6 separate regions of the Homo sapiens genome follow, and all the other regions are linked to region 1. The links are contacts of gene promoters, found by promoter capture Hi-C in human tissues and cell types (Jung and others, 2019). All regions are on one chromosome and are shown on one strand. Each heading gives the region's core, a stretch centred on a gene start or on the middle of the fragment in contact. The rest is flanking DNA. Distances are from core to core; before and after follow the strand shown. Region 1 holds the start of ADPGK (ADP dependent glucokinase). Region 2 overlaps NEO1 (neogenin 1). Region 3 overlaps NEO1 (neogenin 1). Region 4 has its middle 9.5 kb from the start of CELF6. Region 5 overlaps NEO1 (neogenin 1). Region 6 overlaps NEO1 (neogenin 1).

Evidence for each region. Contacts are between HindIII fragments. The study calls those that stand out against the background at their distance.
Region 2: a fragment that was not itself captured here is called in contact with the fragment with the promoter of ADPGK in region 1 in 3 of the 25 tissues and cell types used here (IMR-90 fibroblasts, aorta and dorsolateral prefrontal cortex).
Region 3: a fragment that was not itself captured here is called in contact with the fragment with the promoter of ADPGK in region 1 in 2 of the 25 tissues and cell types used here (dorsolateral prefrontal cortex and mesendoderm cells).
Region 4: a contact is called between a fragment that was not itself captured here and the fragment with the promoter of ADPGK in region 1, in 1 of the 25 tissues and cell types used here (mesenchymal stem cells).
Region 5: a fragment that was not itself captured here is called in contact with the fragment with the promoter of ADPGK in region 1 in 1 of the 25 tissues and cell types used here (dorsolateral prefrontal cortex).
Region 6: a fragment that was not itself captured here is called in contact with the fragment with the promoter of ADPGK in region 1 in 3 of the 25 tissues and cell types used here (dorsolateral prefrontal cortex, hippocampus and mesenchymal stem cells).

Annotation. Positions count from the first base shown.
Region 1 is chr15:72,780,868-72,785,245 of GRCh38, forward strand. ADPGK (ADP dependent glucokinase) reads right to left here and starts at 2,891. Exons shown (of 7, transcript NM_001365225.1): 1 at 2,592-2,891. The coding sequence starts at 2,824. ADPGK-AS1 (ADPGK antisense RNA 1) reads left to right here and starts at 1,968. Exons shown (of 3, transcript NR_040107.1): 1 at 1,968-4,329. RefSeq lists enhancers at 2,267-2,336, 3,097-3,156, 3,207-3,416 and a silencer at 2,587-3,046. The HindIII fragment of the contact is 4,696 bases long and covers 1,832-4,378 here.
Region 2 is chr15:73,136,252-73,141,009 of GRCh38, forward strand. All of the region lies in intron 5 of NEO1 (neogenin 1), which reads left to right. Among named protein-coding and RNA genes, the nearest start is that of NEO1, 86 kb to the left of the region's middle. The HindIII fragment of the contact is 5,639 bases long and covers 1-4,758 here.
Region 3 is chr15:73,156,257-73,160,896 of GRCh38, forward strand. All of the region lies in intron 5 of NEO1 (neogenin 1), which reads left to right. Among named protein-coding and RNA genes, the nearest start is that of NEO1, 110 kb to the left of the region's middle. The HindIII fragment of the contact is 6,272 bases long and covers 1-4,640 here.
Region 4 is chr15:72,327,232-72,332,145 of GRCh38, forward strand. No RefSeq gene overlaps it. Among named protein-coding and RNA genes, the nearest start is that of CELF6, 9.5 kb to the left of the region's middle. The HindIII fragment of the contact is 4,054 bases long and covers 1,031-4,914 here.
Region 5 is chr15:73,175,102-73,179,345 of GRCh38, forward strand. NEO1 (neogenin 1) reads left to right here. Exons shown (of 29, transcript NM_002499.4): 6 at 1,302-1,456; 7 at 3,206-3,326. Among named protein-coding and RNA genes, the nearest start is that of MIR12135, 120 kb to the right of the region's middle. The HindIII fragment of the contact is 4,235 bases long and covers 1-3,820 here.
Region 6 is chr15:73,226,915-73,231,711 of GRCh38, forward strand. All of the region lies in intron 7 of NEO1 (neogenin 1), which reads left to right. Among named protein-coding and RNA genes, the nearest start is that of MIR12135, 71 kb to the right of the region's middle. The HindIII fragment of the contact is 4,439 bases long and covers 1-3,498 here.

The DNA.
Region 1 (4,378 bases), core at 1,641-4,140:
TATTCAGGTTATCTCTCAAATCTCACCTCTTCTACATCATTGCCGAGTTTGGTTCGGGCTCCTTTCTCCCTTTACACAAACCCTACAATGGCCTCTTAAACCAGTGTCAGGATGTCAAGATATTCCTCCTTATGAATCACATTAAATGGCATTTTGAGTGTGTCTGTGTGACAGAGAGTGTGAATACGAGTGTGTCTCTAGAGAAGTCAAACTACAACCTCAAAATGAGATTCTGATACAAGTACTACACCTGCTCCCCCTCATCCCTCCTATATCCCCCTATCTTTGGGCTAAAAATCCTCTTTGGGTAATAAATGATGAGAAGCAGTGAAACAGTTTAGAACCACTGCTCAAAATCCACCCTTCACATTCCCACCAATTCTCAACAAAGAACTTGTCATCAGTTAACTACTTACAAACCTTTATGGCTTCCCCATAAAAGGCCCTTCACAATCTGGTCCAACCCTTCGTTCTCAGCATCATCTCTTTACAACCCTCTACCATAGGATTCTCGCTCCAAAACAAGGCCGACCTGTTCCCAAACAAACCATGTACTTTTTCACATTTGGTTCTCTTGCCTAGGTGGACCTGTTCCCACTTTGGCTTGAAGAAATCTCATTTATTTAGTGTCTGTCCTATGAAAGTCACTGTAGTAAAATATATTTTCCAAGATGGTGGCAATAAGATGCCCCATTCCAAATGTTCTTTTCACAATGTGACACTGATGCTCCTCCCATCAAGGTTTGTTCTATGTCCCCTCCCTTAAAACCAGGTGGACCTGTGACTCTGGTAGAAGAGTTCCTATGTGCTTCTAAGGTAAGGTCGTAAAAGGCATTAAGGCTTCTGCCTGGTCCTCGTGGGTTGTTCCTCTTCTAACCATAATTGTTATGGATTGAATTGTCCACCCCCCACCAATTCATATGCTGAAACCCTAATTCCCAATGTGACTATATTTGGACGTAGGGCCTTTAAGGAAGTAGTTAAGGTTAAATAAGGTCATACGGGTGAGCCCTATTCCAAAAGGACCTAGTGTCCACATAAGAAGAATAAGAGGCACCAGGAGTGTACATGCGCAGACTAACTGAAAAGCCAGCTGGCTGCAAGCTAGGAAGAGAGGCCACATCGGAAGCCAATCCTGCCAACACCTTGATCTTGGACTATCAGCCTCCAGATCCACGAGAAAACAGATTTGTTGTTTAATCCACCTAATTTGTGGTATTCTGTTCTAGCAGCCCAAATGACTGATACAATAATATGTTTCCAACAAGTGAGACAGGGGCCTTGCTTCACCCATCTCTGTATCTTAAGAACCTAGCACAGACCTGACACTAACCATGTAGTTGGTGAATATCTGCTGAATGAACGCGCATAAAGCAAGGAAGGACAATTTAATCCCAGCACTTTGGGAGGCCAAGATGGGAGGCTGGCTTGAGCTCAGGAGTTCGAGACCAGCCTGGGCAATATAGCAAGACCTCGACTCTACTAAAAAAAATAAAATAAATAAAAAATTGGCTGGGCGTGGTGGTGCTTGCCTGTCGTCCCAGCTACTCCAGAGGCTGAGGCAGAAGGATCTCTTGAGCTCGGGAGTTCGAGGCTGCAGTGAGCAGTGATTGCACCACTGCACTCCAGCCTAGGCGACAGAGAGAGAGACCCTGTGTCCAAAAAAAAAAAAAAAAAAAAACCCCAAAATTATAGCTAATATCGAATGCTTTTTAAAGCAGGCACTATGCTAGAGAGATTACATGAATGATGTCATTTAATCTTCAGGCCAAGTTTGCTCTACTTTACCCCTCCCGGCCCCAACACTCCACAGAAAGTAGTGAGCTACATGGTAGAGGGCCTGCTTTTATGTGGTGGTTATACATAACTCTGAGATTACGGCAAGAAAGTCAAATCGAACTGAGACAGGGACTAAAGTTAGTGTTTACAGTATCAATACTATAAAGAAAATAATTACATTCCCAAGGAAAAGTACAAAGAAAGGAGGTAGTGTCATTTGGAAGAACCTTAAATATGCAGTGTCACTGAAGTCAGGGGAAGAAAAGAATTTCACGGAGAAGGGCGTGTTCAATGCGTGGAAGGCTGCAGAGTAGATAATGAAGATTCAAAAAGGCAAATCTGAGAGGAGTTGCAGTACAGTCGTGTGGTTTCTAGACTACACGGCGTTTCGAAAGTGGGTAAAGGCAGACATCACGCGTCTTCAAGAAGTTCAGAAGAAAGAGGAAGAGTGTTGTCATAGTGGGTAAGGTCAAGTATCTTTGATTGCAAAACAACAGTCGCCAGAAGAGAAGGGGCTAAAAGTTGGAACGAGGAAGAAGGCTCGGAGAAAGGTGTCAGACAAAGCGGGATTAGCAAGAAGCTGTTAGGGCTGGTCCTACCGGGATGAGAGAAAGGCGCAGAGGCCAGCCGAGTGGAAAGAGCAGCGGTGACGAACCGGGTTCCACTCAGACGTCCGACACTTCTCGCCAAGGGGCCAGCGCGGACAGCAGCGCCTCCCGGGGACCTCTGAGAAGCCCTGTTTCTGCGCGGCTCCGCCCGACCTCCAAGGCCGACCTCGGAGGCTCAGAGACCCAGGCCCCGTTGGCACTCACCCCACTGCCACGCGGCGCCAGCGCCGGACTGGCCGCACGATAAGCGCGTCCCAGGCTGCCGCCAACCGGCCCTCGGGGGAGACGGGTCCCGGGGGCGCAGGCGCGGGCCCCAGACACAGCGAGCTCCAGAGAGAGCGCAGCGCCGAGCCTGGCAGCTCTGGCTCCAGCAGGAAGACGCAGCCCACGGCCAGCGCCAGGAAGCCCGCGTACGCGGAGCCGCGCCACAGCGCCATGGGGACCCAGGCGCCGCACCTGCGCGAACCAACTCCTTTCCTAGCCCGCGCCTCTTCCGGGCTCGGCGCGCGCCGATGTCGACACAAGCGCTACGTCACAAGGGTGCGCCACGGGGCCCCCCAAGGGGCGGGGCGACGGGCGGCGCCAGGACGGAGCGAGGGGGGACCCCACGCCTCAGTCCCAGGCCTGGCACTGCGGTGTTGCCGCCCCGGAGGAGGTGGGACAACGGCGGTTGTGCCAGTCCGGGCGCTGCACCCCCTTCCCGGAACTCTAATCGTATCCCCAAATAGAGGGATGGGAACACATTTGCTTTCGCAGTAAAACGAAACGGACAGATTGTGAAGAAGCGGACAAACCTCGCGTTAATATTCGAACCAGTGGGTGTCCCCATTGGCACGGATCACACCCCCATCTTTTAATCCCTCCCTCCGCCCGTGTCCCCTCATTTGCTAGACTTGTCCTCTTCCAGGCCTAGTGCTCGGCGCTTCTGAGAGGAATAGGCTCACAGAATAGCGGCGCTGCCGAGACCCCTGGGGTACGCGAGGCAGGGGGATTCCGCCCCTTTGGAAGGTGGCCGAGACCCTCAGCCACTAAAGGACTTCGTCGAGACAGGAGAGCCCGCAGAGATCGTTCTCTTCTGGATAACCAGATTATTCCACAATCAAACTTTAACCCTTTTGGGGGCGCTGTTCCCTTTAACAAACTCTGGAAAATGTACACAATCTTGTGCACAACACGAGAGTTATGGACCTGGGTTGAGAAACGCTGCTTTCTTTTGTTCCCCCTTGGTGACATCACTTAAACCCAGCCCTCTCTTCGCTGATACTTTTCTGTGCATGAGGCTAGGTTGAGAGACAGTGAAGCTAGGCTGGGTACCAGCTCATTCTCATCAGCCACAATGCCCGGCCTAGTCTTGTTCCCTGGTTTGTTTCCACTTTTCCAATTCTCTCGGCTCCTGACCTTGGCTTTGTGTCCAGTTTTCCACTGTGACCCTGACCTTTGGACTTGGCAGCGAAACTTTATTTCCCTAACTTTGATCTTGGGCATTAGTCTTCATTCTCCTCAGCCCCACCTCATCAGAACTTCCCCATCCTGGTCATCTACCTTCCCGCAGTTCATCCTACCCAGCCTACCTGACCATGCCATCCCTTTCGACAAAGATATTCACACAGGAACAGATTTGGGCTACCTTGGAAAAGAAGCCAAAGAGCCAGTCAGATCTTTATGAAGCCATGAAAGCCATCTTCCCTAGAGTTGCCTGTCACTTCTCTCTCCTTAGGGAGACATGTCAGTCAGTTCCTAGAGAAACTGCTTCTTCTCACAACCCTCAGCTGTCAGGTTTCCCTGGCACCCAGAGGGGACTGAGCCAGCAGCTGACCTGAAAACAGCGAGTCTGCTGACTGTCCAGCGATCATTTCCCTCTATTGAGAATTTTAACCAAGTTTCTGTTGTCTGTAGTTATTTGATATTGGCTGTGGACCCACAAAGTCACACAAGGCTAAAGGTCAGAACCAGTTAAATATGTTTCCAAGGTGAAGTTTTGGGGAGCACAG
Region 2 (4,758 bases), core at 1,213-3,712, 350 kb after region 1:
GGAAATAATAAGAATATTTACCTTATTGGGATGATTTGAGGGTTAAAAGAGCTAATACTTATAAAACCCCTGGAATAGTGACTAGGATATTGTGAAAGCTCAATGTTAGTTATTGTTGTTACTATTTGTAGTGGTGGTGGTGGTGGTGGTGGTGACAGGAAGGGTATGATCTGGGGCATCTGGAAGATTCACTTTTCTTGTCTCAGGATGTTTTCTGATGAAGACGTCTCTGTTCTGTGACCCCGAATTATTTCTCTCCTCTCTGTTGGTGTCCTTTTCTTTTGGGTGAACAGATCACCCAGGAAGGAGTACACTGTGCCTCTCAATATAACTTGGTTTGATGATTTGGTGTTTATTTTCCTCTCTTCATACTTCTGATAATCACTGCAAGGGTAGTTGTTCTTCCTTTTTCTCCTACTCTTCCCTTTTCCCCTTATAGGTTCTTTGATTCAGACGTCAGAAAATAAAGATGGCATGACTACATAGTCTTGTTTTTATCCCCATTTCCTGTGCCATTCCTCCATATGGAAATGTACCCTCAAGTGCTGGCTAGAGGTGACTAAAGTGACCAAAGGTCACTTTTCTACCTCTTCTTCCCACCCCCTCAAAACTCCCAGATTGGTAGCTTTCAACCTAGGAAGACTGCTCCCAGTGCTGTTTCTCCCTAAGAGTTAGGAGTGCTGTTTCACTCCTAAGAATGAAACTCTGACCGGGACTGTTGCCTGAGGAATGCCCCACAAATTGGAGTAAATCATAGTGGTTCTGAGGTTCCTGGGGTTCTTTGCTCGGGGCCTCAGCCTCCTCTTTTCTTAAGTTCACCATTTAGATACAATTAAGACCTGGCCTTTAGTGCTTTCACAAACATATATATTACCAGAGTGGTTGGTACCCTTGATGCACGTTAGTTTATAGCCAAGCTGAACACCTGAATAATACAATTACTCTCAGATTGGCAACCAAGTGAATAATGTATGCTATCTCATAGATAATTACTGGAAAAGACTGACCAAGAATTAAAAATAACCATAAATATATTTAAGGAGATAAGAAAAATATTTGCAATATGATGCAAAAACAAGAAAATATAAACACAGAACCAAATAGAAATATTAAGAATGAAAAATATACTAAAAATAAAGAATAAAGCAATCTGCATGATAGAGAAAGGTATCCCATTTTTAAATTTTGTTTTATTTTGATTTTTTTTGAGACAGGGTCTCCCTCTGTTGCCCAGCCTGGAGTGCAGTGGTGCAGTCTCTGCTCACTGCAGCCTCTCCCTCTGTCACCTAGGCTGGAGTGCAGTGGCACAATCTCTGCTCCCTGCAGCCTCGACCTCCTGGGTTCAAGCGATCATCCTGCCTCAGCCCCACAAGTAGCTGAGACTACAGGCATGTGCCACCAGGCCCAGTTAATTTTTGTATTTTTGGTAGAGATGGGGTTTCACCATGTTGCCCAGGCTGGTCTCGAACTCCTGGGCTCAAGTGATCCACCCGCCTCGGCCTCCCAAAGTGCTGGGATTATAGGCATGAGCCACTGTGCCTAGCCAGAGAAAGGTATAACATTGATGAGCAAACTCATGAATTGGAAGATTACATTGAGGAATTCTCTGAGAATGCAGCATTATATGATAAAGAAAGATAACACATGGAGTAAAATCTAAGAGATACGATAGGTATAGGTAGAAGGACTATCTAGATAAATAGGTGTCTTAGAGGAGAGAAAGGAAGAGGGAAATATTTGAAGAAATAATTAAGATAAATTTTTCAGAATTAGACTTGTAGAACACCTTAGACTAAAAGGACTAGTAGACTGTTAAATAGGTGAAAGAAGGAAAAACCCACCTTGAGGCCCATTTACAGTAACATACAATAATGTATAATTATATATACAGTAACGTATAATATCAAAGACAAAAAAATTCTAAAAGCTTCCAGTGACAAAGAGCAGATCACCTACAAAAGAAAAAGATTGGATTGTACCTAAGTGTTGATTTGAGAAATCTGGTATCGGGAGGACAATAGCGTAATCTTTTTAAGGTGTTAAAAGATGTTGAATACACACAATTTATATGCATCCAAAATGTGAGACATAATAAAAATTATCACACAAGATCTCTGAAGGTTTGCTGCACAAAGATACGTTGAAAACACTTTTGGAATAAATACTCAATAAAAGATATACCTGGGAAATACTGCAAGAGCCTTTTAAAACAAAGGGGGAGTTGGCCGGGCGCGGTGGCTCGCGCCTGTAATCCCAGCACTTTGGGAGGCCGAGGCGGGCGGATCACGAGGTCAGGAGATCGAGATCATCCCGGCTAAAACGGTGAAACCCCGTCTCTACTAAAAATACAAAAAAATTAGCCGGCGTAGTGGCGGCCGCCTGTAGTCCCAGCTACTTGGGAGGCTAAGGCAGGAGAATGGCGTGAACCTGGGAAGCCGAGCTTGCAGTGAGCCGAGATCCCGCCACTGCACTCCAGCCTGGGCGACAGAGCGAGACTCCGTCTCAAAAAAAAAAAAAAAACAAAAAAACAAAAAAACAAAGGGGGAGTTTTAAAACAGCTCCCAGATTCTTTGACTATCCTTCTATAGAGTGGTGGGGTTTATGTCCGTTGCTCTTGAATCTAGGCAGGCTTGGAGCTATTTGGATCAATAGAGTATGGCAGAAGTCATATGTGACTTCCGAGGCTTATAAAAAGCTGTGCATTGGTTGTCATACTTGGAGAGAATTTTTTTAAAAGGAAAAAAAGAAAAAGCAGTGCGGATTTTTCCTGGCTCTCTCGATGCTAAGAATATACAATGGGGAAAGCATAGTCTCTTCAGTAGATGGTCCTGGAAAAACTGGATAGCCACATGTGGGAGAATGAAATCAGATCCTTATCTCATATATGTAAATCACATATACACCATACACAAAAATCAACCCAAAATGGATTAAACACTTAAACATAAGACCTGAACTGTAAAACTACTAAAAGAAAAGAGGGGAAAAGCTTATTGACGTTGGTCTTTGCAAAGACCAACGTTTTTTTGGATATGACCCCAGAAAACACAGGCAACGAAAGCAAAAATAGATAAATTGGATTGCATTGAACTGAGACGCTCCTGCCAGTAATGGAAACAATCAACAGTGAAGAGACAACCTATGGAATGGGAGAAAATATTTGCAAACCAATGAAAACAGAAGAAGAAAATGATAACAAGAGCAAAAATTAATGAAATAAAAAAACAAACATTCAAAACAGAGAATGTCAGCAAAGCCAAAAGTTGGTTCTTTGTAATGCATAACAATATTGATAAATCCCTGGGAAGACATACATTACTTGACAGAGATCTTTATCTAGACCCGGGGTTGGCAGAGTACAGCTTGTGGGCTAAATCTTCCTGACTGCTTGTTTTTGTACAGCTTGTAAGCTAAAAATAGTTTATATATTTTTAAATAGTTGAAAAATATCAGAAGAATAATATTTTGTGATACATGAAAACTTTATGAGATTTCAAAATTTATTGTTCATGCAGTCTTACTGGCATACTGCCACACTCATTCATTTATGTATTGCCTATGGCTGCTTTCATGCCACTACACAGGAGTTGAGTAGTTGTGACAGAGACCATATGGCTCACAAAGCCTAAAATATTTACTGTCTGGCTCTTTACAGAAAAAGTTTGCCAATCCCTGATGTAGGTTTTACAAAGAACTCCTACAGATCAGTAAGATAAACAAAGACAGAAACCAATAGAAAATGGGCAAAAGACTTGAACATCGACCTGGAAGAAGATGTCTAGCTAGCTATTAATATTTGAAAAAGTGGTTGTCGTTATTAGTCTTCAGAGAAATGCAAATAAAAACCATAGTGGGATATCACTGTATTCCACTATAATGGCTAAAGTTGAAAAGCTCAACAAATACCAGACATTGGTTAGGATGAAAACCACTGGGGACTCTAATGTACTGTTGACAGGAGTATACACTGACACAATCACTTTAAAATTCTGCTTGGCAGAATCTATTAAAAACTGTACACTGGCTAGGCGCAGTGACTCATGCCTGTAATCCCAGCACTTTGAGAGGCTGAGGCAGGAGGATCACTTGAGGCCAGGATTTGAAGACCAGCCTGGGCAGCATAGTGAGACCCTATATCTACAAAAAATGAAAAAATTAGCTAGGCATAGTGGCACACACCTGTATTTCCAGCTACTCAGGAGACTGAAGCAGGAGGATTGCTTGAGCTAAGGAATTTGAGGTTACAGTGAACTACGATTGTGCCGCTGCATTCCAGTCTGGGTGACAAAGCAAAACCATCTCTAAAAAATAAAAACTTAAAAAAACTGTACACAGAAATACCCTATGATATAGTAGTTGTATTCCTAGGAGTATACTTACCAGAAATGTATAATTATATGCCCCCAAAACCATGCACAATAATGTTCTTACTGGGAATAATTCAAATCTCCATCAAAATACAAATGTAGAGTAGTCTTCCAGTCATACAATGGCAAATTATCAGCAATGAATATTGACAGATCACTGCTACATTCGACAATGTGGGTAAATATCACAAACACCCTTGAAGAAGCCAGACACAAAAGAATACCTACTATATATATGTAATTACATTGTTATATATAATTCCATTTGTGTAAACTTCAAAAACAGACAAAACTAATCTATGGTTTTAGAAGTCAGAATACTGATTACTTTTGGAGAAGGGCAGAATCGTTACCGAATGTTGCACAGCCCGGCTTCTGGTGTGTTTATGTT
Region 3 (4,640 bases), core at 422-2,921, 370 kb after region 1:
CTGTGTGTTAGTGTGCAGTTATTGGTGGAGTCTGTGATGAGGTTTTGCTGGAGACTGGAATGCCTCATGGGTCCTTCAGTGGTAGTGGTGGTGGGCTAAGTATGTCTATCATTGTGACCTGGTATGTGGTATATGCTGGCACCCATGTTGGTAGTTCCAGGTAGGCTGATTCTTTGGCCACTGGGTGGCTCTCTCAAATGCCTGTTGTAGTAGAGGTAGACCATGCAGGTGAGCAGACTCTTGACCTACTGGGAAGCCAGGGTGGTATGGGCAATGGGAATAGCAGTAGTAGTGAGAAGCTCTTCTCATTCACAAGTGTTGTGCCCTTGTTTTATCAGTTGTTGCAATGGGCTGTGCATGTCAGCCTCCAGGCCAGTAGGTGGCACTTGCAGGTAATAGCCAGCTATATTGTCAACAGTAGGTTTTATGCCTAACCTCTGTTTCTGAGGACAAGTGCTTGCACAGGTGTCCCAGATGGTGGATTGAGTTGCAGAATTCTCAGGAACCTGGATCCCCCTAACCTCCACTTCCCTCTGCGGAGTAGGGGCCAAGCTGAGTGGAGCTGGAGCAGGCAAGCTTGTACTCAGGCCTCCCAATGGTGGGTGCATCTACCTTCCTTGACGGGGGTGGCAGGGCAGTTCTCAGGCCCCTGGTGAAATTCTTGGGTGAGGGATGACTGTTGCTATGCCGAAGTCTTAACATGGGTATGGAGGGGCAGTCCCAGCAGCCACAGATGTGGCTTGTGTAAGTAGGACTTACTTCCTTCTCATGCCCCAGTCCTGGCAGAGTTCCCTCCCACTCCTAACTGTGGCAGCAGATCAGCCTGTTCAGTCATGGCAGTGTTCTGCAACTCAGTCCAGGGCCTTAGGAGATACAACCCAGCTTAATCCCAAGCCTCCATGGCAGCTCTCCTCCTGCTCAGGTCCCAAGCAGGTAGGGGGATACCCCAGTTTCAGTATCAGCTGCCCATACCAGTTTCTCAGTTCTGGTTGCAGGAGTCCAGACTCTTGCTTGAGTCCCAGTTCTTCAAGCCCCAGCCCGAATTTCTGACACCAAAGCCTGGCACTGCCACTTGTTCCCAGGACCATCCACAGCTTGTTAAGAGCTGGGATTGAGAATGGCCTCTTACTGTAGCTGCCTATATCTGATGGAATGTATGGGACGTCCCTGGAGCAGTTCCTTGTCCAGTCACTCCCCAGGTGAGATCCAGGATTCAGGAGGGTCAAGGTGCTCTCCTACAGCCTGGATTGTACAATTCCCCTGTGGAAACATGGACTGCAGAAATACACTCACTCACCCTCTCCCCTACTGGGGATACATTCCTGATTTTCAGCCAGTCCTGGCCACACGGGTTACCTGTTTTCCTTCTTCTCAGATGTTGAAGTTTCCTTTTGCTTTTCTCTTGAACTCCCATGCTCCCTCTTGGATAATATATTTAAAGTGTGATTGTCTACACACAATTTTTGTTCTTCTAAGTGGATGAGATATGCTGGAAATGCTTCTACTCAGCCATCTTGGAGAGAAACTTGAAATTTCTGAAGTTCTGTAGATCTTATCCTAACTCTGTTTTATTGAAAACTTTAACAATTCCTACATCAATACTAATACTGTTTCCCTTGTTGATATTTTGTTGGAAGGATCCCTTCTCATTGTTCTTTTAAAAAAAAAATTGTTTTTGACCAAATGTGGTGGCTCACATCTGTAATCCCAGCATTCTGGGAGGCTGAGACAAGAGGATCGCTTGAGGTCAGGAGTTTGAGACCAGCCTGGCCAATATAGTGAAACCCCATCTCTACTAAAAATACAGAAATTAGCTGGCTTGGTAGTGCATGCCTGTAGTTCCAGCTACTCCTGAGGCTGAGACAGGAGAATTGCTTGAACTCGGGAGGCAGAGGTTGCAGTGAGCCGAGATCGTCCTGCTGCACTCCAGCCTGGGAGAAAGAGTGAGACTCTTTTTTTTTTTTTTTTTTTTTTTTTACAATTTTTTCTTCTAGATGGCCTGCAGATTCAGCTTGTTAAATTTGATAAAATTTCTCCTGGGATATTAAATGGCATTTCATTGACTTTACAGATTCATTTCAAAAGAATTGTGATTGATATATTTACAGAATTAAGTCTTTGTAGCCAGGTGTGTGTGTATATTATTATTACCATTTTTTTGAGACAGGATCTCACTCTGTTGCCCAGACTGGAGTGCAGTGTGTGGTCATCGCTCACTGCAGCCTTGACTTCCTGGGCTCAAGCAATCCTCCTGCTTCAGCCTCCTGTGTAACTGGGACCACTACGACACCCAGCTAATTTTTGTATTTTTTTGTAGAGATGGCGATCTCACTTTGTTACCCAGGCTGGTCTTGAAATCCTGGCCTCAAGCATTCCTTCTGCCTTGGCCTTCCAAAATTCTGGGATTACAGTCATGAGCCATCACACCTGTCCTCACTTTTATTTTTAATTAAATATTTTTAATAGATAACATATGAAGATGTTCTAGAAAGGATATATAGTGAAATATTACTGCTATGTCCCAGCCCTCCTCCACAGAAGCAACCATTATTTTTTTCTTATCCTTCTAGAGATATTCTATGCCTGTTCAAGCAAAGAAGTGTGTAAAAATAGCATAATAGGTGTAACAAGCAATCTTAGAGATTGTCATCATCAGGAGCAGATCCAGCTTTTTTGAGGTCTGCAGTGAAAACTACTTTGGAGGCCTTGTTTAAGACAGTGAGTAGCGAGGTGTGGTAATACACACCTGTAATCCTAGCTATTCAGGAAGCTGAGGCAGAAGGGTTGCTTGAGCCCCGGAGTTTGAGTTCTGCCTGGGCAACTATAGCAAGATTCTGTCTCAAAAATTTTTTTAAAAAGACAGTGAATACCAAACTATGTACAAAATGAGTAGTTATTTAGAACGAGAAAAGAAAGCACAATAAACTAGTTTTTCAAAGCTGATAAACACTACAAACGTTACCAAAACCCAGAAAAAACAGCACTTTAAAAATATTACCTTATACACGTATGTGTTGTAATATTTGTTTTTGCTGCATTTTGTTTCATTGTCTCCTCATATGTCAGTGATTTTGTAAGTCATTTTCTATGAAAATAGAAAGCTAATTTGGTCTTTTCCTCCAGTGTTTAAGATATAGTCATTTGAATATGACTCCACACCTTTGTGTCTCGGTGTTGGGTCCTGTTAGTACAGTGGGCAGAAGGAGTATTCCTGGAAGTCTTCCTATACTGAGACAGTTTAGGTATACACAAAAGTTTTGGCGAAAACCACATAAATATATCCCACTAAACCCACTAATGGTATATGTAGCTCAATTTCCTCTTGACTTCTCTTAAGTACAAAAATGACTTCAGCCACTCCATCATGACCTGGCATAAGGGCAAGTCAACATGGAAGCAGCAGCAGTCTTGATGGACTGTGGTTAAAATAGCTTACTATTTGGTGGTTCCTAATCTTTTGCTGCTTCAGTGTTCAGGGAATATCCTTATGTCTTTATGCAAATGTGTGAGTGTTTCTGATAGATGAATCTCTTGAGGTGAAATTGCTGTATCAAAGAGTTTATACAATTTAGATTTTTATAGATATTACTAAATCACCCTATAAAAGATTGTATCAATTTATATCATCACCAATATATATAAGACTGCCCGTTTCTCATACTCTTGTTATTTGCATATTACTTACATGAGTGAGGTTCAACATCTTTTCTCATATATTAGGAAATTCTGTGTATTTTCATTTTGTGCACTGTCTATATCTTTTACTCAGTTTTTATTTGTAATTTTTTTCTTATTAATTTGTTGGAACTTGTATATATTAGGGAAATTAGTTCTGTTATCTGTTTTCCCCCTGTTCATTGTCTTTTTACTTCATGATAGTTTTTAATTATGTATACTTTTAATTTTTCTATGTAGTCCTCTTGAATATACAAAAACCCCAAAACACCAAACTGTTGTTTTTCCTATTCTCTACTTTCTGCTCAACGCAGAAAACCTCTGTGATCCCAGAATGTGGGGGTTATTTCCCCACACACCAAGCAGTACTTCAGTGGACACCTGCTGTATGTCCTATAATTCAGTTCAGTTCTGACACTACCTACCTTTCTATTTTTCTAATAGAAACAGTACTACTTACTAAATACCGAGTTTATTTCATATGTATATTCTTGCCTCCTCACCATTTCCATGTAGAGATATGGCACTGGAGAGAGTGTCATATCTCACAGGTTGAGAGCTCAGGACCACCAGACTACCATCTCTCTTCAGGTGGTAGTCCCAAGTCTGGGTCTCCAGAACTTCTGACTGACTAGCTACAGATTGAGGTTCCCATGATCCCCTTGTTGGGTTTTATTAATTTGCTAGAGTGGCTCACAGGGCTCAGGGAAATGCTTACTTAAATTTAACCGTTTATTATAAAGGATATTACAAAGTGTTAAACAGCATAGGGCAAGGTACGTGGGAAGGGGCATGGACTTTCCATGTCCTCTCTGGGAACCACCCTTCAGGAACCTGCATGAGTTCAGCTACCTAGACGCTCTCCCAAACCCTGTCCTTATAAGTTTCTATGGAGGTTTCATTGTGTAGGCATGATTGATTACATCATTGGCCACTGGTGATCAATTGAACCTTGAGCTCATCTC
Region 4 (4,914 bases), core at 1,808-4,307, 450 kb before region 1:
GTTGGATATGTAAAAATTTGAGTTTGGTGCCAATGGGCTTTTGAGCTAATGAGTCCCAGCCTGCTCTGAAGAAGTAAACAACATAGGGCCAATATACAGAGGTCATCTTTGGTTCATTTGCATAACATGGCCCCAGCACTGGCACTGAACATATCATTATCTCTTCAGGCATTGGCCATTCCGGGTTTGTTCACCCCAGGTACATGTGTGTCTATTCAACCTGTAGTTTGAAGCTTTTTTATTTCAGAAAAACAAAGAACAAAAAACTGTTAGGCCAGGCACGGTGGCTCTCACCTGTAATCCCAGCACTTTGGGAGGCCGAGGCAGGTAGATCACTTGAGGTCAGAAGTTCGAGAACAGCTTGGCCAATACGATGAAACCCCGTCTCCATTAAAAATACAAAAATTAGCCAGGCGTGGTGGTGGGCTCCTGTAATCCTAGCTACTTGGGAGGCTGAGGCAGGAGAATCACTTGTACCCGGAAGGCAGAGGTTGCAGTGAGCCAAGATTATCCATTGCCCTCCAGCCTGTGCGACAGATCAAGACTCCCTCTCAAAAAAAAAAAAAAAAAAAAGGTATGAAAGTATAGTTTTAGTGTATGTTCTGTTCTGTTGCTTTCCCTTTCCTCTTCAGGAAATCCTGTCATACATATGTTAGATCTTCTGCCTATCTTGTTTTTTGTTTTGTTTTTTGATCACTTTCTCCCAAATCCTTTTTTATCTCTTTCTTCTTTAAAAATATATTTTTTTAAAATCCTCCATGGCTGGTGCGGTGGCTCACACCTGCAATCCCAACATTTTGGGAGGCCAAAGAGGGCAGATCACCTCCATTTAATCTTCTATTTGTCTGAAGATATTATCCATTGTCATTTTTGCTAGTGAAACTTCTAGAATAGACTTCATTTCTGAAATAACTTTTCATTTATTCTAATTCCCTCCTGAGTTCTGTAACCTCACTTTTAAACATCTTATTTTTTCCAATCATCACATTTTTGAATTTTTCTCACTCTTATATTGATTTTTCATAGTCCCTTTTCTTTTCTTAATGGTTTTCTTTTGTTTTAAGGGTAAATCTTTCTGTCATGCTTTCACTGTCAACAGGGACATTATGGTATTATTCCCTATCCTCCTCTTTTATGTATGGACTTCAATTGAGTAGTTTTAATTGCTTTTTTTTTTGAGATGGAATTTCGCTCTTGTTACCCAGGCTGGAGTGCAGTGGCATGATCTCGGCTCATTGCAACCTCCACCTCCTAGGTTCAAGCGATTCTCCTGCCTCAGCCTCCCAAGTAGCTGGGATTACAGGCGCACGCCACTACACCTGGCTAACTTTATATTTTTAGTGGCGAAGGGATTTTGCCATGTTGGCCAAGCTGGTCTTGAACTCCTGACCTCAGGTGACCTACCTGCCTCAGCCTCCCGAAGCGCTGGGATTACAGGGGTGAGCCACCGCACCTGGCCTAATTGTTCATTTTTAAGGGCAATGAGTTTTTCTGTTTAGAAAGAGCAATAGGAAGAATAGCCTTTTTCTTTTTTTGTGTGATGGAGTCTCGCTCTGTCACCCAGGCTGGAGTGCAGTGGCACGATCTCGGCTCACTGTAACCTCCATCTCCCAGGTTCCAGAGATTCTCCTGCCTCAGCCTGCCGAGTAGCTGGGATTACAGGCGCCCGCCACCACACTTGGCTAATTTTTCTTTTTTTAACCATGTTGGCCAGGCTGGTCTCGAACTCCTGACCTTAAGTGATCTGCCCACTTTGGCCTCCCAACGTGTTGGGATTACAGGCATGAGCCACCACGCCCGGCCAAGAATAGCTTTTCTAGCTTCAAAGCTTTAGAGTTTTCTTTACCTTAAAATAGGTGATACAAATGTGATCTTTGACTCCCGAGACAGGCATCCTCTACTACGCCACCTACTTCTATCTGGACCTTCTCTCTCTCTCTCTCTCTCTCTCTTTTTTTTTTTTTTTGTCCTTATTGTCTCTGCTAAGTTCTATTTGGATTCTACTGCCAGCAGTTTCTCCTCTATTTGGGCTTTGTCTTGGAAGGAAGTGTTGATTTGTTAGTCTCAAGATCTCATAAAGTTCAGACCACTCCAATATCTCCAGAACTTTAAAAATTAGAACAGAAATCAATGAAATTGAAAACAGAAAATAAAGAGAAAAAAATCAACAAAATCAAAAGATGATTCTTTGAAAAGATAATAAAATTAACAAACCTCTAGCCAGGCTAACCAAGAAAAAAACAAGACACAAATTATTAATGTCAAAAATTAGAGATGGGGCTCACTCCTGTAACCCCAGCACTTTGGGAGGCTGAGGCGGGCAATTGCTTGAGTCCAGGAGTTCAAGACCAGCCTAGGCAACATGGGGAAACCCTGTCTCTACAAAATATAAAAATTGGCTGGGCTTGGTGGCGCATGCCTGTAGTGCCAGCTACTTGGGAGGCTTCGGTGGGAAGATCATCTGAGTTTGGGTCGGTCAAGGCTGCAGTGAGCCGTGATTGTGCCACTACACTCCAGCCTGGACAGAATGAGCCCCAGTCTCAAAACAAAACAACAACAACAACAACAACAACAAACAGAGATAGGCCATCACTACTGATTCCATGAGCATCAACAAGATAATAACGCAGGCTGGGTGTAGTGGCTCATGCCTGTAATCTCACCACTTTGGGAGGACGAAGCAGCCAGATCACTTTAGGTCAGGCGTTCGAGACCAGCCTGGCCAACACGGAGAAACCCCATCTCTACTAAAAATACAAAAATTAGGCTGGGCGCGGTGGCTCACGCCTGTAATCCCAGCACTTTGGGAGGCTGAGGCGGGCGGATCATGAGGTCAGGAGATCGAGACCATCCTGGCTAACGCGGTGAAACCCCGTCTCTACTAAAAATACAAAAAAAATTAGCCAGGCTTGGTGGCGGGCACCTTTAGTCCCAGCTACTCGGGAGGCTGAGGCAGGAGAATGGCGTGAACCTGGGAGGCGGAGCTTGCAGTGAGCCGAGGTAGTGCCACCGGACTCCAGCCTGGGTGACAGAGCGAGACTCCATCTCAAAACAAAACAAAACAAAACAAAAAAAATTAGTGGGGCGTGGCGACAGGTGCCTGTAATCCCAGCTACTCGGGAGGCTGAGGCAGGAGGAGAATCACTTGAACCTGGGAGGCAGAGGTTCAGTGAACCGAGATCGTGCCACTGTACTCCAGCCTGGGCAACAGAGGTAGTGACTCCATTTCAAAAAAAAAAAAAAAAAAAAGGATAATAAAGGAATATTATGAAGAATTCTATGCCCACAAATTTGTCACACAGGCTAAAGTGCAGTGGTGCAATCACAGCTCACTGCAGCCTCCACCTCCTGGGCTCAAGTGATCCTCTTGCCTCAGTTTCCTGAGAAGCTAGGATTTACAAGCATGTACCACCACACCTGGGTAAGTTTTTTTTATTTTTTGTAGAGACGGGGTCTTGCTATGTAGGCTAGGGTGACTAATTTGTATTATTTCTTTTCTCTCCTTATTTGAAATTTAATTTTCTATGTCTAGTTTCCAGAAGTGGAAGCCGATTATTGATTTTATATCTTTCTCCCTTTGGAATATATACATTCAATGCTACAGGTTTCTCTTGCAGCATTGCTTTTACTACATCCCACAAATTTTGATAAGTTGTATTTTTCGTTTTCATTTAGTTTAAAATATTTTCAAAATTTCTCGAGTCTTTTTTTCTTTTTTGAGGTGGGGTCTCACTCTGTCACCCAGCCTGGAGTACAGTGGCATGATCATAGCTGTATTAGTCAGGGTTCTCTAGAAGGCCAGGACTAATAGGACAGATGTACATATGAAAGGGAGTTTATTAAGGAGTATCGACTCAAACAATCACAAGGTGAAGTCCTACAATAGGCCATCTGCAAGCTAAGGAGCAAGAAGCCAGTCTGAGTCCCAAAACTTCAAAAGAGGGAAGCTGACAGTGCAGTCTTCAGTCTGTGGCCAAAGGCCAGAGTCCCTGGCAAATCACTTAAGTCCAAGAGTCCAATAGCTGAAAAACTTGGAGTCCGATGTTTGAAGGCAGGAAGCATCCAGCACAGGAGAAAGATGAAGACCAGAAGACTCAGCCAGTCTGTCCTTCCACGTTCTTCTGCCTGCTTTATTCCAGCTGCACTGGCAGCTGATTAGATTGTGACCACTGGATTGAGGATGGGTCTGACTTGTTAATCTCCTTTGGCAACATCCTCACAGACATACATATGGAGGAACAATACTTTGCATCCTTCAATCCAATCAAATTGACACTTGATATTAACCATCACAATAGCTCACTGCAGCCTTGACTGCCTGGGACTCAAGTGATCCTCCCACCTCAGCCTCCCGAGTAGCTGGGACCACAAGTGTGTGCCACGCCCAGCTAATTTATTATTATTGTTTATTTTATTTTTTTTAGAAATGGGGTATCACTATGTTTCCTAGGCTGGTTTTGAGTGTTTTTCTTTGGCCTATGTATTATTCAGAAGTGTATTGGTTAATAAGCTACTCCGGAGACTGAGGCAGGAGAATCGCTTAAACCTGGGAGGTGGAGGTTGCAGTGAGCTGAGATCGCACCACTGCACTCCAGCCTGGGCGACAGAGTGAGACTCTATCTCCAAAAAAAAAATAATAATAATAAAAGAAAAGAAGTATATTGGTTAATCTTTAAATATTTGACTATTTTCTAGCTATATTTCTGTTATTGAATTCTGTTTAATTTTTTTGTGATTTGGGGGCATACAATGTATGATTTCAAGCTCTTTAAATATGTTAAGGAGTGTTTTATGCCCAAAAATGTGGTCTATCGTGGTGAATATTCCGTGTGAACTTGAAATGAATATATAGACCAAGTTGACTCATGTTGCTGTTCACTTCAACTATGTCACTACCAATCTTCCTCCTGGATC
Region 5 (4,244 bases), core at 453-2,952, 390 kb after region 1:
TTAAAAAAGGAAAGGGAGATTGGAAAGGCATAAATAAATCTGTCTCTACTCACATACAAGCATGATTGTCTATGTAGATAATCCCCAAACTGTATTTACAGAGGCTGATACAGCTAATGAGATAATTTAGGATGGCCACAGGATAAAAGGTTAATACACATAAATCAATTTCATTCCTACATACTAGCAGAGAACAACTGGAAATTTTAAAAAATTTAAAGTACCACTTAGAATAGCATCAAAAGTATTTGAAATACCTAGGTATTTATCTAACAGAGCATGAATGAGATTTGCTTACTGAAATCTGTAAAACATTTATGAAAGAAATCAGACTTAAATAGAGAGATAAACCTGTGTTCAGGGAAAAGAAGACAATATTTTTAAGACGTCAAGTTGCCACAAATTCAACACAATCCCAATCAAAATCCCAGCAGGCTGGGCAGATGTTAGGTCAACTGTAAATAAAGCTGCTGTCGTTGCCATTGTTGTTGTTATTTCATAGAACTAGCCTGCAGTGGAGCTTGCTGCTTTGTGATGTAGGGAGTTCCTGTCATTCACACTTTTCAAATACAGATCGCTAAGACCCTTTGTCAAGGATGTCATATAGGAAATTATATCATTAGGTAGGATGCTGGACTAGATCTACTTCAACCCTTCTAATTAAAAATATTATGATCTATTATTTGTAAGTTAGCAATTTACAGCTGTGGGGCATGTGGAAAGGGAGCTACTGGAATATTCAGACTTTTTCAAATGTACTTATCCTTTCCCCGTCACCCTGTAAAACCATTGCATATAATGAGGGATCTTAGTAATAGGAGTGTGTTGCATGAGTGAGCTGTTTAAGGACTCTAATGTGACGTTTATTTTACTTTGTTGTTGTTGTTCTTACTTATCAAGCTGACTGAAAAGGAAAGTTTTATCAATCTTTTCCACTCTTTGAATTCTAATTATAGCTCTTAAAAAATGGTATAAATCTTAGGGAAGTATTCTTTAATATTTATTTTTAGACATTTTTAATTTCTCCAATATAGTCAACTTAGTAAATAGTTCCAAATAAGGAAACTCAGAAATTATCTTTAAAACAGTTAGTTGTACCAGCAAATCATTTTTTAAAGATAATTGTATTCCTAACATGTATTTTTTATTATATATTTATTTTATGCTTTTGCAAAAATATGTGAAAGCTTCAAATAATGAGTAAAAATCCTGTGGATTTTATGATTTAAAAATTGGTTGAAATATGAATAGCTGCCTAGTTCTATTTTCATTAATGTCTTAATTTCCTTTTTATTTTAAAGCTCAACCTGAATTCCTGAAGCAGCCTACTAATATATATGCTCACGAATCTATGGATATTGTATTTGAATGTGAAGTGACTGGAAAACCAACTCCAACTGTGAAGTGGGTCAAAAATGGGGATATGGTTATCCCAAGTGATTATTTTAAGATTGTAGTAAGTATTTTTCAAAGAAGTGTGTTTATTTCTGTAACCTTTAGATATTTTTAAATGTAGTCACCGAGAGATCAGTTATCTTATATATACTAGTTTGTGTACTGCAAATGAAATAGAAGAATTCACATAGAATGTAATACCTTCATTGGCTGATGAGAAAGCTGAGCCCAGAAATACTTTGGTAGCTTATGTAAGATCACATAGCAAGTCAGTGGCTTACCTAAGCCTAGAGTCTAGACTCTTACTTGAACACACTGGCACTCTGAAACACAGCTGCCACCATTTTCTGGCAGATGATTAGCACACATGTGTGTGCGTGTATGTGTGTCCCCAGTTGTCTTCACAGCTCTCTGTTCAAGAAGCAGAAATCTTTCCACACTTCTCCTTGAAGTGTGGAAAGATGATCCTTTTGAAAAACATAATATGTAAGAATGCAACTGACTATACAAAACTTAACCTTAAATCGTATACCGATGCCCAGACCCTTCAAAATAAGGATGACCCAGTGTCGGACAATTGTGGTAGCAATAGTTATAAAGATTCTTTTTTAAAAATGCATTTAAAAAGTGTCAAGTGTATTTAAGAATACTCAGCCATAATTGCTTTTTACTATACTTTATATATAGTAAATGATTCTTAGATATTACCTACTATTATCATCAATATCTAACATTTTAGTAATAGAATTATCCAGCTTTAGTAATAAAGATTAATGACATACCTTGAGATCTATACATGACATTCATAAAAATGATCAGAACTATAGTTGTTAAAGACATAATGTCTCATTACAAATTTGTCATACAAGTAAACATTCTTAGAAATATATTTTCTATTTTTGAAATGCATGATCTCCTGTTGCAAAAAGTAATTTACAAGTATTTAACATTAAAAAGCAATCTGTTATAGTTAAAATAGCCTCTTAAAATCAATATTTGGAAACTAGAAAATTTTTAAATCATATTTATTATACCAATAACAGTAGTTAAAAATTTTTTTTGTTTTTTAAGACAGGGTCTCGCTGTGTCACCCTGGCTGGAGTGCAGTGGTTTGATCATAGCTCACCACAGCCTCAAACTCCTGGGCTTAAGCGATCCTCCTGCCAACCTGAGTAGCTGGAACTACAGGCACGCACTACCATGACCAGCCAATTTTGTATTTTTTGTAGAGATGGGGTTTCACTGTGTTGCTCAGTCTGGTCTTCAGCGCCTGGGCTCAAGTGATACTCCTGCCTCGGCCTCCCAAAGTGCTGGGGTTACAGGTGTGAGCCACTGCTCCTGGCCCAGTAGTAATAGTTGACATTCATATAGTACTTTTTCATTTAAGGAAAGCTCACATGGCTTCATTTAATTTATTGTAGTCTAATCTGTTAGAACTATTGATATTATAGATAGTCTTAGGAAAAATAATACCTTAAATTCACAAATTGGACTTTAACTGTGGTCAGTTGGTATTGCGTGCCAGATCTTTTTCCAGGCAAAGGTGTAGTTTGCAAACAGTGAGAGTATGACTTTCCATGCGTTAAGTTCTTCATCGTGAATGACAGTATGTACTCTTCTATTCAGTTAAATTGGTACCTTGCCAATGCTTTAGTATGAAATTGAGTTAACAAGTACTTGGATAATATTTAATAATTGGATCATAAAAACTTTACTTGTTTTTTTCCTCTCCAAAAAGCATATTTTTGAGATTTTGATCTGGTATTTATCAATTAAATTATGTAATTTTATTTATGCTTTTCTTCTTCAGAAGGAACATAATCTTCAAGTTTTGGGTCTGGTGAAATCAGATGAAGGGTTCTATCAGTGCATTGCTGAAAATGATGTTGGAAATGCACAAGCTGGAGCCCAACTGATAATCCTTGAACATGGTAAGAAGGGCTGAAATAGTCAGATGATAGAGGCTGTGTGCTTGATGAACAAGCACCCATCCGTCCAAATAACTCATGATTGATAACCCATTAGTAAAGGCCAATATGTGGCATAGCTAAGAGAAAAAGAATAGCAGTCTAAATCATTTCTATTACATAAAATTACCTAGAAGCACAATTTTGGATAATGTTGAAAAGAAATTTTTACTAAGAAAAGGAAAACTGAATATTATAGTCTTAATAAATTAATTTTTAAAAGAATTTAGTCATCTTAATCTCACAAATATATTTCTGTCCTATAAAGAAAAACTTCTTTTTTTTCCAATTCTATACACTTTTATTAATACACTTACAAAAAATAACATTCAAACACTGAGAAAACTAAATAACTTTGGAAGCAGAGCTCATTGTTTTCTGCTTACATATAAGTGACAATTCTGGGCTGTTGGCACAAAATAGTCAACATTCATAAAACCCTGACTACTATATATCAAACATAAGTTAAAATCATAGGCAGTAGTTTATCAAATCCACGTTTCTTAGAAAAACTTAGTATTTATTTTGCATTGAAATTTTTAGTTTTTCCAGAATACAATTAATTTACCTTTTCTGATTACCACCAAAAAACCAAGTTTATTATTTAAAAATTCAGATAACAATGAAAAGTATAAAGAAAAAAATCCATCCTGTATCTCAAATTAGGGAACCCACACTGTAATTTGAGCAGAGTTTTAACATAAGGAATTAACATTGATATTGGGATTGGAGTAACAAAGGTTTGACTAGTAAGAAGTAAAGAGAACTCTAGACAATATAAGAATGGCAACTATCAGGAGCAACTACAACCCCTAGGTCTGAGATAGAGCCCTCAGGAAGAGGCCCCTCTTTTTACGGATGAGATCCAGACCCTGTTGGAGA
Region 6 (4,797 bases), core at 29-2,528, 440 kb after region 1:
ACCTACTCACAGCTGTAGTTGGTGTGAGTGGGCGTCAAATTAGGATAACTGGGGATCTGCTTAACCAAGGGTGCAACATGCCTAGTGCAGAATTTAATGATCTCCACCTTCAGAAACTTTCAAATACATGTATTGGTTAAACTAATAATTATAGACTGTTACTAAGTGACACTTTATCAGTCACAAATCTAATGTATTGAAACTGGAACCGTCAACCACAGCATAGCTAGATTTTGAAAGTTAATTCTCAGAAATATTAGGAGCAGCTCTGATGACTTACTCAATATAAAGCCGGGTCAGGCCGGGCGCAGTGGCTCATACCTGTAATCCCAGCACTTTGGGAGGCCAAGACAGGCACATCACTTGAGGTCAGGAGTTCGAGACCAGCCTGACCAACATGGTGAAACCCCGTCTCTGCTAAAAATACAAAAATTAGCCGGGTATGGTGGCGCATGCCTATAATCCCAGCTACCCGGGAGGCTGACGCAGGAGAATTGCTTGAACCCAGGAGGCAGAGGCTGCAGTGAGCCGAGATCACACCACTGCACTCCAGCCTGGGCAACAGACTCCATCTCAAAAACAAACAAACAAAAAAGCCAGATCAGGAGAAACGTCATCATTCTTTAGGAACTTCCACGGAACAATTCAATTTCTGCTACTTACAACCCTGTGCAGGCCCTTAGGTTTCAGCGACTGGGCCAGTGTGAAGCTGCTGCCAAGCATTTGAGCAGCAGGTCAGAGCGGACAGCAATGCTCACATTTGAAAATGTAATACCTTTTCTCAAATAGATTTCCCAGTGGCCTTTGGCTTGATTCAGATTTACATGGTGTTTACATACTGTTCTAAACATAGTAGCAGTATGAACAAAGGTATAAAAGCTGTAAAGTTCCTTCTTGTTAAGTAACCAAGCAAATCAAGAGCACATCCTGTTTAGGAAATAAGCCTAGAAAGCGAGGATGGGACCAGTCTGGAGGACTTTGAACACTGTCCTGAGATGTTTAGACTTATTCTGGAGGCTGTTTGGTACAGTTACAATGGGTGAACTTTATGGTATGTAAATCATACTTCAGTAAAGCTGTTGAAAGAAAGACTGGATAGTTGAAACTATTAAACATCCTTTTTTTTCCTAGTGTAAAACAGCAATAGTTACACAGTCCTAGGACATTTCTTTTGCTCAAAACACCTGAGCTTAAAATCTGTCTGAAGTCTTCATAAAATTAAAGTGTCCAGAAATTATCAAAGACTTTTATAAATGCCAACCAGTCATCAAGGGCCCAAAGCAAACATGAAAAATACAGATCTGTAGGCCACATGTAGTAAAAACCTTTGTTTCTTAGAGTCAGGCTGGTTGCTTTCCCTTCTGCCACCAGAGTAGTTATCTCATTGCGCTCTTAATTTACATTTCCCTAATGACTAATGATGTCATTTTCATGTGCTTATTCTATGTTTTCTTTGATGAAATGACTATTCAAAGCTATTGCCTTTTTTTTTTTAACTTTGGTTGTTTTCTTAATGAGTTGTAAGAGTTCATTATGTATTTTGGGTATAAGTTTTTTTTTTTTTTATCAGATACATGATTTGGAAATATTGTCTGCCAGTCTGTTGCTTTTCATTTACTTAGTTTTGGGTTGTTTTTTGTTGTTGTTGTTGTTTTTGTTTTGTTTTTTTCTGGGTTTTTTTTAGTGCAGAAGTATTTGTTTTTAATAGAATCCAATTTATCAGGGCATACTTTCTTTTATGTCTTGTGCGTTTGATGTAACGTATAAAAATTCTTTGCTAACTCAAGACATGAAGTCTTCTAGAAGTTTAGTTCTTAGATTAAGACTATGAGATATTTTGTTAATTTTTATATATGATGTGAGTTCATTACTTTGCATGTGGATATATTGTTGTCCCAGCACCAGTTGTTGAAAAGACTGTTCTTCCCACATTGAAATTTCTTGACACCTTGGCCAAAAATCAATTGACCACAAATATAAGGGTTTATTTCTGGACACTGAATTATCTCATTGATCGATGTGCCTATTCATATGTCTTGATTACTGTAGCTTTACAGTAAATTTTGAAATTAGTAAATTTTGAAGTACAGTAAATTTTGAAATCCTCCAACTTTTTTTGTTCTTTTTGATAATTGATTTGGCTATTCTAGGTCTTTTGCATTTCTTCTAGCATTTTGCATTTCTTCTAGCATGTTAATAGTTGCCTTATTAACAACTTTGAGTTGTTCAATTCATGAACATGGACTATCTATTTATTTAGATCTTCTTTAATTTCTCTCTGCAATGTGTTGTAATTTTTTCTTTGTACCAGTCTTACACTTCTTTTAGGTTTATTCCTGAGTATCTTAAAATTTATCCCTAGATATTTTTGTTAAATTTATTTCTAAGTATTTTAATTCTTTTTGATGCTATTGTGAGTGGAATTTGTGAATGGAATTGATTTCTTAATTTCATTTTTGGATTGTTCCTAAAATATAGAACTACAGTTGGTTTTCATATCCTCCGACCTTGCTAGCCTTATTTATTAGTTTTAGTTGTTTTTTTTTTTTTCAGTAGATTCATGAGGGTTTTCTGCATAGATAATTATGTCATTCACACATGAAAATAGTGTTATTTCTTCCTTTCCCATCAGTATTTCCTTTTTCTCTTTTTCTTGCCATTTTGCACTTGCTAGGACTTTTAGTACTAAGGAATGAGAAACTAATATCCTTGTCTTGTTTCTAATCTTAGGGAAAAAGCATTTAATCTTTCACCATTACATACAGTGCTCACTGTAGGCTTTTCAGGTTGAGGAATTTTACTTCTTTTCCTAGTTTGTTGAGAGTTTTTATCATGAATGGGTGTTTCATTTTGTCAAATGCTTTTTCTGTGTCTAGTGAGATAACTAGTGGTTTTTCTTTTTTCTCTTAATGTGATGTGTTTAATTGATTTTGGAACATTAAACTGTCTTGAATTCCTATGATAAATTCTACTTGGTCATGGCATATAATTTTTTAATGTGTTACCAAATGTGGCTTGCTAACATTTTGGTAAGGAGTTTTATACTATGATCATAAGGGATACTGGTCTGTTGCTTTCTTTTCATGTGTCGTGTTTCTTTCTTTTCTTTGTCGGGCTTTGATAACAGAGTAATACTGAACGCACAGGAATGAGTTGGGACATGTTTCTCCTTCTCTATTTCCTGAAAAAGTTTGTGAAGGATTAGTATTATTTCTCTTTTCAAATATTTGATAACATCCAGCAGTAAAGCCATTTGGACTTAGAATTTTCTTTGTATAGGAAGATTTTTACTTACTAATTCAGTTTCTCTATTATAGGTCGTTCAGACTTCATGTTTTTTCTTGATAGATTTGGCAGTTTATGTTCTTCTAAGAATTTTTCCCCTTCCTCTAATATGTCTGATTGGTTGGCAATTTTTTTTCCCAAAATATTCCATTAAAGCTTTTTTAGTTATCTGTAGGGTTGGTAGTATTGTACTATTGTCCCTTCTTGTATTCTTGATTTGAGTAACTTGTGTCTTCTCTTAGTTTCCTAGTCTTCTACCTGAGATAGAAGCTTAGGTAATTCATTTGAGACCTCTCTTCTTTCTGATGTAGGTAAAGCACTACATTTCCCTTAAAGCACCACTCTAGCTGCATCCTGTAATTTTTAATACATTGTGTTTTTATTTTTATAGTGTTAAAAAATTGTGTTTTTGAGGCAGAGTCTCACAATCACCCAGGCTGGACTGCAGTGGTACAATTATGACCCACTGCAGCCTCAACCTCCTGCATTCAAGTGATCCTCCTGCCTCAGCTTCTCAAGTAGCTGGGACTACAGGTGCACACCAGCATGCCTGGATAATTCTTTGTATTTTTTGTAGAGATGGGGTCTCACTATGTTGCCCAGGCTGGTCTTAAATTTCTGGGCTCAAGTGATCCACCACTTCAGCCTCCCAAAGTGCTGGGTTTATATAGGCATAAGCCACCATGCCTGGCCTGTTAAAAAAATTTTTTTAAATTTTTCTTATGATTTCTTCTTTGACCCTAGGATTGTTTAAGAGCATGTTTAATTTTCAAATATTTGGGGTTTTCTCAGATTTCTTTTTAATTCTGTCATTTTTTGCTTTCATATTTTGGGGCTTTTTTGTTAGATATGTATGCATTTATAATTATTATATTCAAAGAAGAAATAACATAATTCAATAATAATTGCAGATTTCAATATTCTGTCAAAAACTGCTAAAACTATTAGACAAAGTTAGGAAGGATATAAAATAGTTAAATAACGCTGTCAACCAGCTTGACCTAACTGACATTATGAATCTTCATAATCTTCTTTATAAGAATCTGCAGATACAGATTTTTTTCAGGCACACATGGAACAACCTCCAGGATAGACCACATGCTAGGACACAAAACAAGTCTCAATACATTTTAAAAGACCAAAATAATATATAGTGTGTTCTCTGACCACAACAGAATTAAATTAGATATCCACAGTAAGCCTGCTGTTTGTCTGGGGCCTGCTTCCTCTTGCTATAAAAGTAGTAAACAGGTCACATGTGGTGGCTCCTGCCTGTAATCCCAGCACTTTTGAGAGGCCGAAGTGGGTGGATTGCATGAGCTCAGGAGTTCAAGACCAGCCTGGGCAACATGGTGAAACCCCATCTCTACTAAAAGTACAAAAAATTAGCCAGGCGTGGATGTGCATGCCTGTGGTCCTAGCTGCTCAGGGAGGCTGAGGTGAGCCTGAGAGGCGGAGGCTGCAGTGAGCCATGATTGTGCCACTGCACTCCAGCCTGGGTGATAGAGCAAG